Linked DNA regions of Homo sapiens: regions 1 and 2 are each linked to region 3. Evidence: promoter capture Hi-C in 16 types of primary human blood cells and fetal thymus (Javierre and others, 2016). All regions are on one chromosome and are shown on one strand. The core of a region is centred on a gene start or on the middle of the fragment in contact, and the rest is flanking DNA. Distances in the headings are between cores, read along the strand shown. Region 1 overlaps PAQR8 (progestin and adipoQ receptor family member 8). Region 2 overlaps PAQR8 (progestin and adipoQ receptor family member 8). Region 3 holds the start of ELOVL5 (ELOVL fatty acid elongase 5).

Evidence for each region. The method cuts DNA at HindIII sites, captures the fragments that hold promoters and counts their contacts. A CHiCAGO score of 5 or more calls a contact.
Region 1: a fragment that was not itself captured here is called in contact with the fragment with the promoter of ELOVL5 in region 3 in 1 of 17 cell types (non-activated CD4 T cells); the score reaches 5.1 in non-activated CD4 T cells.
Region 2: a contact is called between a fragment that was not itself captured here and the fragment with the promoter of ELOVL5 in region 3, in 1 of 17 cell types (activated CD4 T cells). The highest score is 5.6, in activated CD4 T cells.

What each region holds. Positions count from the first base shown.
Region 1 is chr6:52,385,999-52,390,743 of GRCh38, reverse strand. The region is part of intron 1 of PAQR8 (progestin and adipoQ receptor family member 8); the gene reads right to left. Among named protein-coding and RNA genes, the nearest start is that of PAQR8, 26 kb to the right of the region's middle. RefSeq lists enhancers at 479-688, 1-1,814, 4,450-4,559. The HindIII fragment of the contact is 1,034 bases long and covers 1,920-2,953 here.
Region 2 is chr6:52,363,411-52,367,825 of GRCh38, reverse strand. All of the region lies in intron 1 of PAQR8 (progestin and adipoQ receptor family member 8), which reads right to left. Among named protein-coding and RNA genes, the nearest start is that of PAQR8, 3.5 kb to the right of the region's middle. The HindIII fragment of the contact is 1,048 bases long and covers 1,430-2,477 here.
Region 3 is chr6:53,346,273-53,350,545 of GRCh38, reverse strand. It overlaps ELOVL5 (ELOVL fatty acid elongase 5), which reads left to right and starts at 1,596. Exons shown (of 8, transcript NM_021814.5): 1 at 1,596-1,729. RefSeq lists a silencer at 1,756-2,195. The HindIII fragment of the contact is 17,438 bases long and covers 1-4,273 here.

The sequences.
Region 1 (4,745 bases), core at 1,187-3,686, 960 kb after region 3:
GCTATTGGTCATGGGGGGTTTAAAGGGAAAAAAATATGTAACATCTACTGTTAATGCAGCAAAGATGTTCTCTTAGATTGGAAAAGCCAGTATACACAATATTGTCAAAAGACCTTCCCCACAGCACACAAACTCAAACGGCATTAATACGTGAGTCACTTCCTGACCATGTGGGTTTGTGGTACGGCTGAACCGTGCCTATAAAAAAAAAGTAAGGTACACCTTTTTGCCACAGATCTGGCAGCAAGATGTGTCCTTCTGGGCTCAGTGAGCTCTCCACTTATGAATCTTTTCCTCTGTGGTGCCCTATAATATTCCTAAGAGGAGAAAGAAAAGACAGCCTTAATTTGTTGCTGTGCCCTGGGAAAGATGAGCAGAGCAAATTTCCTCTGAGTGCCTTTTTCTCTTTATCTAACTAGAACCCTCTAGCTAGAATTTCTGTCTGTTCTGTCACTTCCTATACTTTCCACATCTCAGCTAATCTCACTTGAGAAAGTACTGGTTTCAAAATGCATCATTACAGACAGAGAATGCATCTGCCACATGGAATAAATAGTATCTGTGTTTAATCTGTCGAGTGGGAGAAGTCAGAGGAGCTGGGAACAATTTACTGGGAGAACACACTGAGCAGTCTCCAGGCAATCAACAGTTCAGGTGTGAAGATCATGTTCTTCTGAGGCTTCTTGTTTGAGTAAAGGTAAACTTTGCTGTCTGAAACTCCCACTAATTAAAGCCTAGGGACAGGTGTCTCCCTGGACTTTCTACATGAGTGTAACTATCGGCTTCGTTAGGTGTGGTTTGGCTTCAGTCAGGCAACCTCTCAACTAGATCTAGCTTCTCACCGGCAGGAAGCTTCATCACTGATCTGCAAACCAGCTGGGACCCGGGCCAACCCGGGTGAACGTGAAGAGAGCTGCTCATTTCCACTGGCAGGAAATCAATCTTGGAAATGCCCTTTCCACAGCAGAAAATCAGATAACAAATCGAGCTAGAGTTTGGAGCACCATATAAAGAAAGCTGTGTTCCCTAGCAATTAAACATTAACTCTTCTGCAGTGACAACAGTACACTCTCCTGGTGGTTCTAAGACCCAGCAATTTTATTTGCTATAAAGAGTCAAGCAAGTCACTTTATTCTTCATTTCTCCTTAGATATCTCCAAGGCCTTAGTTCAATTCCAAATCACCACAAAGCCTTCTCCAGGCCATCTTGATTCCTCCCCCGCCCCCAACCCTTATCTATCTATTCCACATATTTTGGTAAGGAGAACATCAGGCTTGCCCATTACTTCACTACTGTGTGTGTAGAGAGCCTTCTCTCTTCTGCTTATTGAATTGCAAGCCTCTGGAGACAGGAACACTGGCTTACCTATGCTTTATTTCTATCAGCAAACAGTCAGAGGAAAGATGTCCCCAGAATGTGTCAATAGATCATTGTTCAAAAACAAAGTGAATGACTATCCTTTGCCTGCTTCTAAAGGTAAAAACCAGTGAGATCTAAGAAAACGAAAATGTGGGTTTTCAAAAGAAAACACCATTTGAGTTGGATCTTATTTATTTGTGTGGTTCATCCACTTGCTAGGTATCCGCACCAATATTTAAATTGCTGGCTGAATTTCTAACCATCAGCTTGTTTTTGGTCTATCATCTCCTACCATTTGTCATTTTTATGACCAAGAATGCCTAAGCAAAGACTTAGGAAAAGGAGGGGCCAGGCAGAGAAACATAATGTAAAATAACACTGGAGCACTGTTAGAACTCGTTTTTATTCTTGTTGCATACAAAAGGCAGAACAGACTGTCCTGATTGCCTGAACAAGCCACACACTTGACATCGCCAATGTTATTGTAGCCTGCTGTGCCTGGCAAAACCCACTTCTCTCTCAAATTCAGGCTCAGATATAACCCCTCCCCTGTGAAGCTTAGCGACAGCCTGAAGTAGAACTCATCATGTCTTATTAAGCCCTCTGTCTTTGTCCATTCAGGGTGCTGTAAGGAAATATCAAAGACTAGGTGGCTTATAAACAACAGAAATCTATTTTTCACAGTTTCTAGAGGCTGCAAAAGTCCAAGATGAAGGCACCAGCAGATTTGGTGTCCAGTGAGGGCCCACTTCTGGTTCAAACATGACTGTCTTCTTGTTATGTCCTCACATGGCAGAAGAGGCAAGGGAGCTCTCCTGAGTTTCTTTTATAAAGGCAGTAATACCATTCATCTAGGCATTCATCTAGGTCAGTGGTCCCCAACCTTTTCAGCACCAGGGACCAATTTCATGGAAGACAATTTTTCCACGTATGGGGGCTGGGGGTTGAGGAGTATGGTTTCATGATGATTCAAACCCATTACATTTATTGCTTTTTTTTTTTTTTCCTGACACAGGGTCTTGCTCTGTTGCCCAGGCTGGAGTGCAGTGATGCCAACTCAGCTCACTGCAACCTCCACCTCCCAGGCTCAAGCCATTCTTGTGCCTCAGCCACCCAAGTAGCTGGGATTACAGGCATGCACCACCACACCTAGCTGATTTTTGTATTTTTAGTAGAGATGGGGTTTCGCCATGTTGGCCAGGCTGGTCTCAAACTCCTGACCTCAAGTGACCCGCCCACCTTGGCTTCCCAAGGCGCTGGGATTACAGGCATGAGCTACCGGATCCAGCCTATTTCTATTATTTTTACATTATAATATATAAGGAAATAATTATACAACTCACCATAATGTAGAATCACTGGGAGCCCTCAGCTTGTTTTACTGCAACTAGACGGTCCCATCTGGGGTGATGGCAGACAGTAACAGATCATCAGGCATTAGATTTTCATAAGGAGAGTACAACCTAGATCCTTTGCATGTGCAGTTCACAATAGGATTGGCACGCCTATGAAAATCTAATGCTGCTGCTGATCTGACAGGAACTCAGGCAGTAAAGCCAGCAAAGCAGAGCGGCTGTAAATACTGATGAAGCTTTGCTTACTCGCCCACTGATCACCTCCTGCTGTGCAGCTCAGTTCCTAACAGGCCACAGACAGGTACTGGGGGTTGGGGGATCCCTGATCTAGGTGATCACCTCCTAACGGCCCCACCCCCTAATATCCTTACATTAGGGGTTAGGATTTCAACATATTAATTTGGGGAGACACTTCAGTTTATAGCATCCTCTTAGCATTATGCTATAACTGGCTATACATGTGTCTTCCTTTATATTAAATTGTGAAATTCATTGGGTTGCATAAGGAAGTTATTCAAAATATTTTTTCAAAGATTTTAGCTTGTGTTACTTGATTGTGAGAATAACTGAGGTACACTGAATTTAAGTGACCTATTCAAAGCCCTAAACCAAATCAACAATAAGGTATGGGCAGACCCCAATAATTCTGACCCGTGTCCCAAGAGTCCAGCCAACTGACTGCGTCTTTGTGAAAGAACATCTATCAGCTGTGAATGAAAAGGAAGTATTAGATGAGAAGATAGTGCTTGTCCATCTCTGAGCTGCTGATGGACTAGGAATCCTGGCTCACTGTAGTGACCCAGGAGCACTATCCAGAGCCTTCTCTCCCAAGACATCCCATCAGGGCTCTTTCCTAAGGGCACCCCTGAAGACCCTGCTCCACTTCCCAGTGTGGCCTTTTCTGTAATTAGAAGTAGTAATTAATAATCAGTTGCAGAGAAGTGAGCCAAGATTGTGCCACTGCACTGCAGCCTGGGTGACAGAGTGAGACTCCGTCTCAAAAAAAAAAATCATTAGTTATTCCATAGAAGAGCTTCATTTGAAAAGTCAATCTACTCAGTTCAGATCAGTAATTGTAAACTATCACAAAGCTACAGCTTTCATCTCCATGATATTACAATTACCTACCTGCCTAACCTGTAGTATCTACAAAGGTTGTGATTGTTTATCACTCAGAATTACTTCATTTTAAAAATTTTTCAACTTTTCTTTTCTATTCAGGAGGTATATGTGCAGGTTTGTTACAAGAGTATATTGCATGATGCTGAGGTTTGCGGTATGACTGAGTCCATCATCCAGGTAGTGAGCATAGTACCCAACAGGTAGTTTTTCAACCTTGCCCCGGTCCCTCCTTCTCCCTTCTTGTAGTCCTGTGTCTATTTTTCCCTTCTCTATGTCCATGTATACCCAATGTTTAGCTCTTACTTATAAGTAAAAACATGTGGTATTTGGTTTTCTGTTTCTGCATTAATTCACTTAAGATAATGTTGCTGCAAATTCTGTTTTACAGCTCCACAGTATTCCATTATGTGTACATACCACAATTTCTTTATTCAATTCACTGTTGATGGGCACTGAGGTTCATTCCTAGGTTGATCTTTGCTATTTTTGAATAGTGCTGTGATGAACATATGAGTACATGTGTCTTTTTGGTAGAACAATTTGTTTTCCTTTGAGTACATACCCAGTAATGTGGTTGCTAGGTCAAATGGTAGTTGTGTTTGGTTCTCTGAGAAATCTCCAAACTGCTTTCTTCAGTGGCTGAAATTAATTTACATTCTCACCAACACTGTATAAACGTTCCCTAACCTCTGCAGCCTCACCAACACCTGTTATTTTTTTTTAATTTAAATAATAGCCATTCTGACTGGTGTGAGATAGTATCTGGTTGTAGTTTTGATTTGCATTTCTCTAATGATTAGTGATGTTGAGCATTTTTTCATATGTTTTTGGCCACTTGTCTGTCTTCTTTTGAGAAGTGTCTGCTCATTTCCTTTGCCCACTTTTTAATTGAGTTGTTTTTTGCTTGG
Region 2 (4,415 bases), core at 704-3,203, 980 kb after region 3:
AAGTTCAATCAGAAGGAGCTTCCTGGCCTGGCTATCTCCCCCTTCCAAGTGTAGCCCACATGGAACAGAAAGCTCCTCCATCCTCATCTTTCCTCTACACAAGTCTGGGGGACTGTCCTGTTTGCGTGGTTGATCTGCAGAGTACACTTAGCTGTCTGGCAGAACCTAGGACAAAATGCAGAAGGTACCAGAGACGCTGGAGGCCCTACATCTGTGCCCCTGCCCTATCCTTGGGCACACAAATGAAAACAAGAAACCTGAATTCTTTCTGTACATAATAGGTTAAGAAACAAAAGCTGTGTCTGTTTAAAGCACAGTCTTTGGATTTTGACCTAGATCTACCAGTCATGATACTAAGAGTTGACACTTATTGCGATCCTTCTGTGTGTTAAGCATTTCATACACACTCTAACTCACATCTCTTCAGATATGCATCCTATGGATACTCAGATTAAGTAACACACCCAGGGTGGCACAGTTAAGAAATGGTGGTGTCAGGGTGCTAATGCAGGTTTATTTTTACTCCAAATCCCACGCTCTAGCCAAGGGCTTCTCAGCACTACTGATGTTTTGAACCAGATAACTGTTTGTTGTGCGGGGCTGTCCTGTGCATTTTAGGATGGTTAGCAGCATCTCTGGACTCCACTCATTAGATGCCAGTAACATCCCTCCCCCTCCAGGTATGACAATCAAAAATGTCTCCAGACACCACCAAATTTCATCCTCTGGGGGAAAGGGGCAAATTCACCACCCACTTCTCCCCATTAAGAATCACAGCTCCAGGCTGGGCACAGTGGTTTACGCCTGTAATCCCAGCACTTTGGGAGGCCAAGATGGGCAGATCACGAGGTCAGGAGTTCGAGACCAGCCTGACCAACATGGTGGTCAAAAATTACAAAAATACAAAAATTAGCTGGGTGTGGTGGTGCGCGCCTGCAATCCCAGCTACTCAGGAGGCTGAGGCAGGATAATTGCTTGAACCCAGGAGATGGAGGTTGCAGTGAGCCGAGATTGCGCCATTGCACTCCAGCCTGGGTGACAGAGGGAGACTTCATCTCAAAAAAAAAAGAATCATGGCTCCAGTCTAAGCCACAATGTATATTGTTTCCTGGTCCTTTACAAGTACATAAACCGCTACTCAGAAGACAGAGCAAAAACCAAACACAACATTCCAGGAAAGTTTCGTATAGCAATAATACCACCCCATCCTGCAGATATACTTTGTAATTCACTAATTATAGCTATTTTCTCCTTTTATGGCCTCTGAGTACATATTGGGATCTAATTTTGAAAGAGTTAATCCACCTCAAAAATATGAACACTATTGAGAGATCCACCTATTTACCCTTCTTTGAGAAATTGAAGGAAAATATCATGTAGTAAAATCCATATGAATTCTTAGCTCCACAGGCCATTAGGAGAAGAAGCTTTTGTTCCTGCATCATTGTAAGAGAGCACATGATGTGAATGAACTTCTGAAGGGCAAAGCCTGTGTCTCAAGCCTCTCCATCTCCAGCACTTGCTTGCCTAGAACAGAGAATTCTCACTAAATGGTCAACATTTCATGAAACATTAACTATTTCATAGCAGCCCCTAATCATCTGATTAAAATTAAGATGAAACTTTCCCATCTTTCTAATATATGTACATATATATATAAAATAAAATTTATAAACTTGAAAAAAAACTAGTGTTGACATTTACAGAAGAGCTGAGATTTCAGTGCCAGGCTATTCTTCCCTATTGTTTAAAAAACACAGCAGAGCAAAACTCACATTTGGAATGAAGGGAATGTTTACCAGAATCGTCTCTTTCAATACGTGCCAAGAGAACTGTAGCTGTTTCGTTAGAATAATATTTTCATTGGATGAAGGGAAAAAAATTAGAGAAGAGGCTTTTAAACTTTTTTCTTTCAGATTTGCCTTACCACACCAAACTGTTATACATAATATACAATCATAACAGGAATGCTCATTTAAAAAAAAAATCTGAATTCAAAAGAAAGTAACTGGGAGCACTGACTCCACTTATTTGGAGTCTGTATTTCCTCGTTTCTGAATAAATAAAAAATAACTAATTGTCGTTGCTTTTCAGGTTACCCTTTAAAAACTCTTAAAAGACCAGGAGGGCAAAAACCAAAATGTTCTATTTGTAGTTAGTTGCAAAACCTAACTGAAGGGAATATCATTACCTGGGAAATGATAAATTTCCACATGGCTTCAAAGGAATTTTAACATAAGACTATCAATAAATAATATTCCTAACAAGAATAAGTAGACTCTGTTGAGCACTCATGATGTGTCCGGCACCGAACTCAAGTGTTCTACACGCATCAATGTTATTTCATCTTCATCACAGCCCCATGAGGTACATACTCATTAATATCTTCATTTTAAGAAAACTGAGGCCAAAAGAGATGAAACAACTTGCCCCAAACCACAGCTAGATCAAGATTCAAGCTGTGGCTGTATGAAGCTTTATGCAACACAACCTGAAAAAAAAAATGCGAATTTTAAAAAGGGATATGTTCAGTACATTTTTTACTGTGTGCCATGAAATCCCAAAGTTGAAATGAATGTTCAGAAATCATTCTCTTCCCTTTACTTCTGTGGATCCTTTCACATCAAAAATCAAGCACCAGGCATTACCTACAGCTGGGGCAAATGGCTTTCTGGGTACCTTTTTTTTTTTGGTGAGACAACAAGTCTTTTGTATTTTTGTTTTGCTTTCTGTAAAAATCCACAATGACAGAGACTGCCTAGTAACAAGTATCAGGAGGGGCAAAGAAAGGCTTACTTTTTCTAGCCCAATAAGCCATAAGCTATAACAATAAAGTGACAGGACCAATTACTTTACATACATACCAGAGCATAAACACCAAAATGAAGGTTGTGCTTCAAAGTAGTTAAGTTTTTGAGGAGTTAAATGTTGTACTCAAAATTTCCACTGTGGAGATGATGGGAGCCCCTAACCCCGGTGTTATTCAGGGACCAACTGTAATTCCTTCCAATCCTAAATACATACTCCATGCCATTACTAAATGCCCCTTTTAGAACTGCCAGTCTTTCAAGAGAATTTTCATTACTTTAATGAGCATACTTATTGACAACCTCGATTCCCCACCTCGGAAGCCCAAGTTGGCCCCGCACAGTGCCTGGCTGTTTCCCAGCTGAGGAAGGTTTGCCACCACTGAGGCAATCAGGAAATGTGTTGCAAACTCGGAAGGCAACTCCAAAGCAGGAGCTCCAAAATTATTCTCAGTAGTGACAGCATCACTAGAATTAGTACACAGCTTGCCAAGAGCAGGCTTTTGAAGGGGAGAAATACTGATTTGAATGTATAAATACTGGCATATTTATTTTAACATTTGGATAAAGAATTGGAAGCATCAGCAAGTGTTACGTCCAAGTGAATAAGTACACTGCTGCAGGAATGATAGTGCAGATTTTGATGCAAGGTCCTGACCACTCAATAAGGTATACACACACCCTTAATGGAAATATGCTTATCCTGAAATGATTCTTGTAAAATGAATAAATCGCTTTCTATCCTGTTAACTTGCATAATTATTAAAGATTTCCTTTTCATGAATTAAAAACAGACCCAACAAATGCTAGTTGCCAAAATAATCCTTGTTTATCCAATGAAGCTCAAATCTCAGTGTGTGTCAGAAGATGGACCTATATGCACCAGAAGGAAATCTGGTGCATACACACACCCGCAAAAAAAAAAAAAAAAAAAACATATCTTTCAATGGATATATCCACTTAATAAGATTCCTCTACTCTGGGTCTTCCAGAATTGGTTGTTACGCCAAATAACTGAAATAATTACCATACATAATTAACAATACAAGATGGGTTAATGTAAGATAGTCAACATTTAACTAATAATTGAAGGACACGCACCCAAGGACAAACAGCAGAAATAAAAAACAAAAACAAAAACAAAGCCATGCCTTGGTCCTTTGTTTTTAGATACACACTTGGATACTCATCCACTGAGGTCCTAAGCAGTCTGGCTCCCTTCCAGTTGACCTGGTCAAGGGTGCAGCAGCTCAGGGCTGGGTACACGTTGTGGATAACCTTAACAGGGCAGTCAAGGGCAGTCTACCTTCCATGCAGGCAACTCCTATTAACTTCAGTAACAGGAGTCTTCACTGACAAGCAAATACTCCCAAACTGTACAATACTCTCATGTTTAACTCGACTGGAATGCAGTGCGTTTGTGGACATTGTTTGGTGTGTGTATTTGTTGTGGATTTTCCTCGTTTTTACCCAGAAACAGCTTCTCAGAGTACTGGAACAAGTAGTACACACGTGGGTCTAAAAATCACACATACAGTGTATTGTATGAGTTATCCCTAAGGCGCGCACACACACGGGTAGGTATTACCTGTACATTTGAAATCTCAC
Region 3 (4,273 bases), core at 347-2,846:
AGAAGCGTGAAGAATGAAGGAGATATCTCAAAAAAATAGTCTATGCCACCAGCATATGCTTTTCTCATGTCCCTTGATGTCCATAGCAGCATTTACCACTCTGCATTGTAGTTGCTTCCTGACTGTATCATTTTCCAGGCCCAAGAAGTCCTTGAAGGTTTCAAATTTTGAATACCTAACATAGTATCTAGCAAATTGAAGTCATTCAGTGTTTGTGGAGCTCAATGGCAACTGACAATCTCGATTCTTTGTATATGTTTAATTTACTTAATTTGTACATGGTTTGTATACTTGCATTCCTATTGCAATGGCCCACTGCCTGGAACACAGCTGGCACGTGATAAGCATTACATTGTAAATATGTAAAAGAATAAATTTGCCGGCCAGGCTCGGTGACTCACGTCTGTAATCCCAGCACTTTGGCAAGCTGAGGCGAGCGGATTACCTGAGGTCAGGAGTTCGAGACCAGCCTGGCCAACATGGCGAAACCTCATCTCTACTAAAAATACAAAAATTAGTCGGGTGTGGTGGCGCGTGCCTGTAATTCCAGCTACTTGGGAGGCTGAGGCAGGAGAATCGCTTGAACCCGGAAGGTGGAGGTTGCAGTGAGCTGAGATCGCGCCACTGCACTCCAGCCTGGGCAACAGAGCGAGACTCTGTCTCAAAAAAGAAAAAAAAAGAAAAAAAAGAATAAATTTGCCTACATTAAATAGCCGACTGTTAGGTGGATGCACATAGAGGAGTAAGAATACAGCAAGAGGGGCACACGAAGAAAGGCTAAATCTCTGGGGTTTGAATGGGGAAACAGTAGGATACAAAGCTAATGAAGGTCTTTAATTATCCAAATATCAGTGAAAAACAGCAAGGATCTTCCGTTTATGCCCTGAACCCCCTTTGTCTTAAGTGCTTAAATATGCTTAGCTGAAAAGACACTGATTCCATCTTTCCTCATTTAACAATCCTTTAGAATAATTTCTAGAGTAGAAATGGAGTTGATAGTGGCTTCCAAAGAAAAATCAGAATCCCTAAGAAAAATACACGGTAAATCCTTTGCAAGGGAGTTATGGTTACAACAGTTTTGAGTCGTTTTGTTCTTGTTCCTTTATCTTGTTCAACTGCAGACCTTCACTCCGGCGGTCTCCGTGGGCATTTAACCCTTTCAGCTTTAACGATGAAGTGGATCCCCTTCAGCATGACATAACTCATAGAGGAGACCGTAACGAGGGTGGGCTTCTGCCACCCAAATGCGGCCACAGACTCCTGCCACGCCTGGCAGTAAAAAAACCAGAGTTCAGGGCATCGACAACTTCACCGGGGCTATTGCGCAGGCTCTGCGTTCCACGCAGGCTTATTAGGAAGAAAGGGGAAAAAAATTTCCCAGAGACACGTGGAACCGAGGGGCCAACCCCGGCCTAGGCTCTCCACCGCATCGGATTCTGGAATTTACGATCACGAAAGTTCTATTGTCCCGCGATTGGCTCCCGGGCCGCATGACATCATAGCGCTTGATTCATCCTTCGGGTCCCGATTGGCTGGCCGCGCCATTGTGACGTCACGGTCAGCCCACGTTCTGATTGTAGATAGCCGGCGCCTTCCTCTTCCCATCGCGCGGGTCCTAGCCACCGGTGTCTCCTTCTACATCCGCCTCTGCGCCGGCTGCCACCCGCGCTCCCTCCGCCGCCGCCGCCTTGCTGCTGCTCAAAGCTGCTGCCGCCCCTTGGGCTAAAAGGTAAAGCCGTCAGCTCCGGGAAACTTCGTCGGGGGCCGCCGCTCGGCCATGACACCCGCGCGAGCGCGCGGCCGGGAAGCGGTCAGAGAGAACTGCCGTTAGGTCTCGGACCTGGTGCCGAGAAAGAGCTGCCGGGGCAACCCGCGCTCCGCCCGCGGCCTCCAGCTCCGCCGGCTCCGGGGTACAGCCCGGCTCCTCGGGCGCGGGGAAAGGGGTGCGGGTGCGGGCGCGGGCGGCTCGCCCCACGCCGAGGCTGAGGCAGGGCGCTCGGGAGCGTTCTCTGTGCTGCGGTCCCACCTGTGCGCGCTGACAGGCGCCGCGGGGCACGACACCGTGCCCACACCAGACGCGGAGGGATGGATCTGTCCGCCTGGGTCCTCCCGCCCTGCGGGCCGGAGCGCGCGGCGGGAGAGCCGGGGGAGCGCTCTCGGAGGGAGCGCGCTTTCTTTGGAGTCGGCGAAACCCGGGTGAGTTCGAAGAGCCTGTGCGAGGGTCTGCGGGCACCGGGCGCCGCTGGGGGGACTCTCCGGCCTTTCCTTTTTGTCCTGTTCTCTCCGCTTCCGTTAACCCTGCGGACCTTCCGTCCGCCCCTCGGAGGGAAGCCTGCTAGCTCGGGACCGCTTCAGTTTTTATTGAAACCAGACAACGGCAGCCCTTGGTACTCAGGGAGGGATGAGGCTGGTGGGAAAGCGAGAGGGCGGGGACTCGGGGGCGACCGGGGCGGCCCTTTCTGGGAGCCTGATCCCTGGAGAGGCGGGAGCGGTTGGCTGCGAGGGAGGCGCGCGGCGGGGGGGCGGTTGTGCTCTGCGCCGGGGGAGCTAGAGTGTGTGTTGTCTTGCGAGTTGTAAGGAAAAGTGCCTTTTTACTGTTTCCACGCCGGTAAGACTCTCCCACCCCACCACCTCGGGTCGACGGAGCAATGCCTAGAGCAAGAGTTGTTCTTGCTGAACTGCGTCTTGCAACCGTTCCGTGTTCTTGCACTTGGCGGTTCCCCCCGCCCCATCCACAATTGTGAATTAAGCTCCTTGATTGCAAATTTGGAGAATGCATTTGGCCAGTTATGCAAAGTGGCGGAGGTGGCGGGGTCGGGGGCGGGGGGTCTCTTTCGGAAGAATCCAGTGCATGGTTTATTAGCTAGACTGAGGAACCGAGAGGTGCTAGATGGGATTTGTGGGGAGCGAGCAGCCTAATTTGTTTTAAATAGCGGGACCCGTGGCAGGAAGTGCTTCATAGAATTGTACGGAAGAGCTGATGTTGCTTGTCAGGTTTTGTAACTCATTCTCCTAACCGCTTGGCAGATAACCTGTTGGTCTGCACTTGTTTTGCTTGCACGTCTCAGCCAAAAGCATTTCGTGCAGAATCTACAGATAGAAACAGGCGGTTTTGCATTAGATGGCCGTGGACAAACATTTTAGCCTTCCATCTGTGATTGGGGACAAGTGGGTTACTTTTCTGGTAGCTCAGACACTGCCTGGGATTCTCCAGGAAAGCTCTGCACTTGAAAGGGAAATGTTACTCATTTTCCTTTTAGATTTTTACCCTAGATTCTAACTTCTTATTGCCAGGAACTTTTTCTGTACTGTTTCTCTTTTTGCATTTTCGTTTCTATTTCTAATTGAAGACAAAGGGGAAATTTTTATTGATAGTTACAGATAGGTAATGTTACAGAATGTAGTACAGAACTTTGCTGAAAAGCGACAGTAGAAGGCTTACTAAAATTTGATGTTTTTCAAGAAAAATATCTTGTAACTTCAGATATTGACCTCACCTCCTTGACTCAATTTCCTTGTCTATACATGGGGATTTTATGTGGCAGGATCATTGTGGATTTCAAGAGATAATGCAAATGAGAGCCCAGCATTGAGTCTGCCAAATGGTGGTTTGAAAATGTTTCCTTCCCATTCCCTGAAATCAACAGCTTCTTCTTGGTTACAGACCTTAATTTTTGGATGTTCTGTTTGCAAGAATCTTTTTTTCCACTACCTCTTCTTTTGCTCCCTGCATAATGGTTGCTTGTCTTCCTGCTTCTAGAGGTGAGCATCCATCCTTGGGTGTCTTATTTCCAGCTTGAATTACACAAATCAAAGCAAAACTGTTTACTTTTCTTGAGGGTAACTTTGGTGCCTAGGTGGGTAGTTAGTGTGAAGAGAGAGTTTTACCTCTTGCTTTCCTGGCTACATTCTTCTCTCCTAAAAGATTTTGTAATTTTTTTTTTTAATTCCTCCTCTTTGCCTACCAGCTCTTCTGTTATCAAAAGGCTAATCCTCTCATTAGTTACCTGTAAATAAGTCTTTCCTTGAATGCTTTCTGTGTCAGGTACTTATTAATACGCACATGTACATAAACGGTTGCTTTCCACACGTAATTCTTATAACACCTCTGTGAGGTTTTATCCCCCAGTTGTTTTTTAAGAATTGAGGAGCACTATGAAGACACATGCACACGTATGTTTATTGCAGCACCATTTACAATAGCAAAGACTTGGAACCAACTCAAATGCCCATCAATGATAGACTGGATAAAGAAAATGTGGCACATATACAC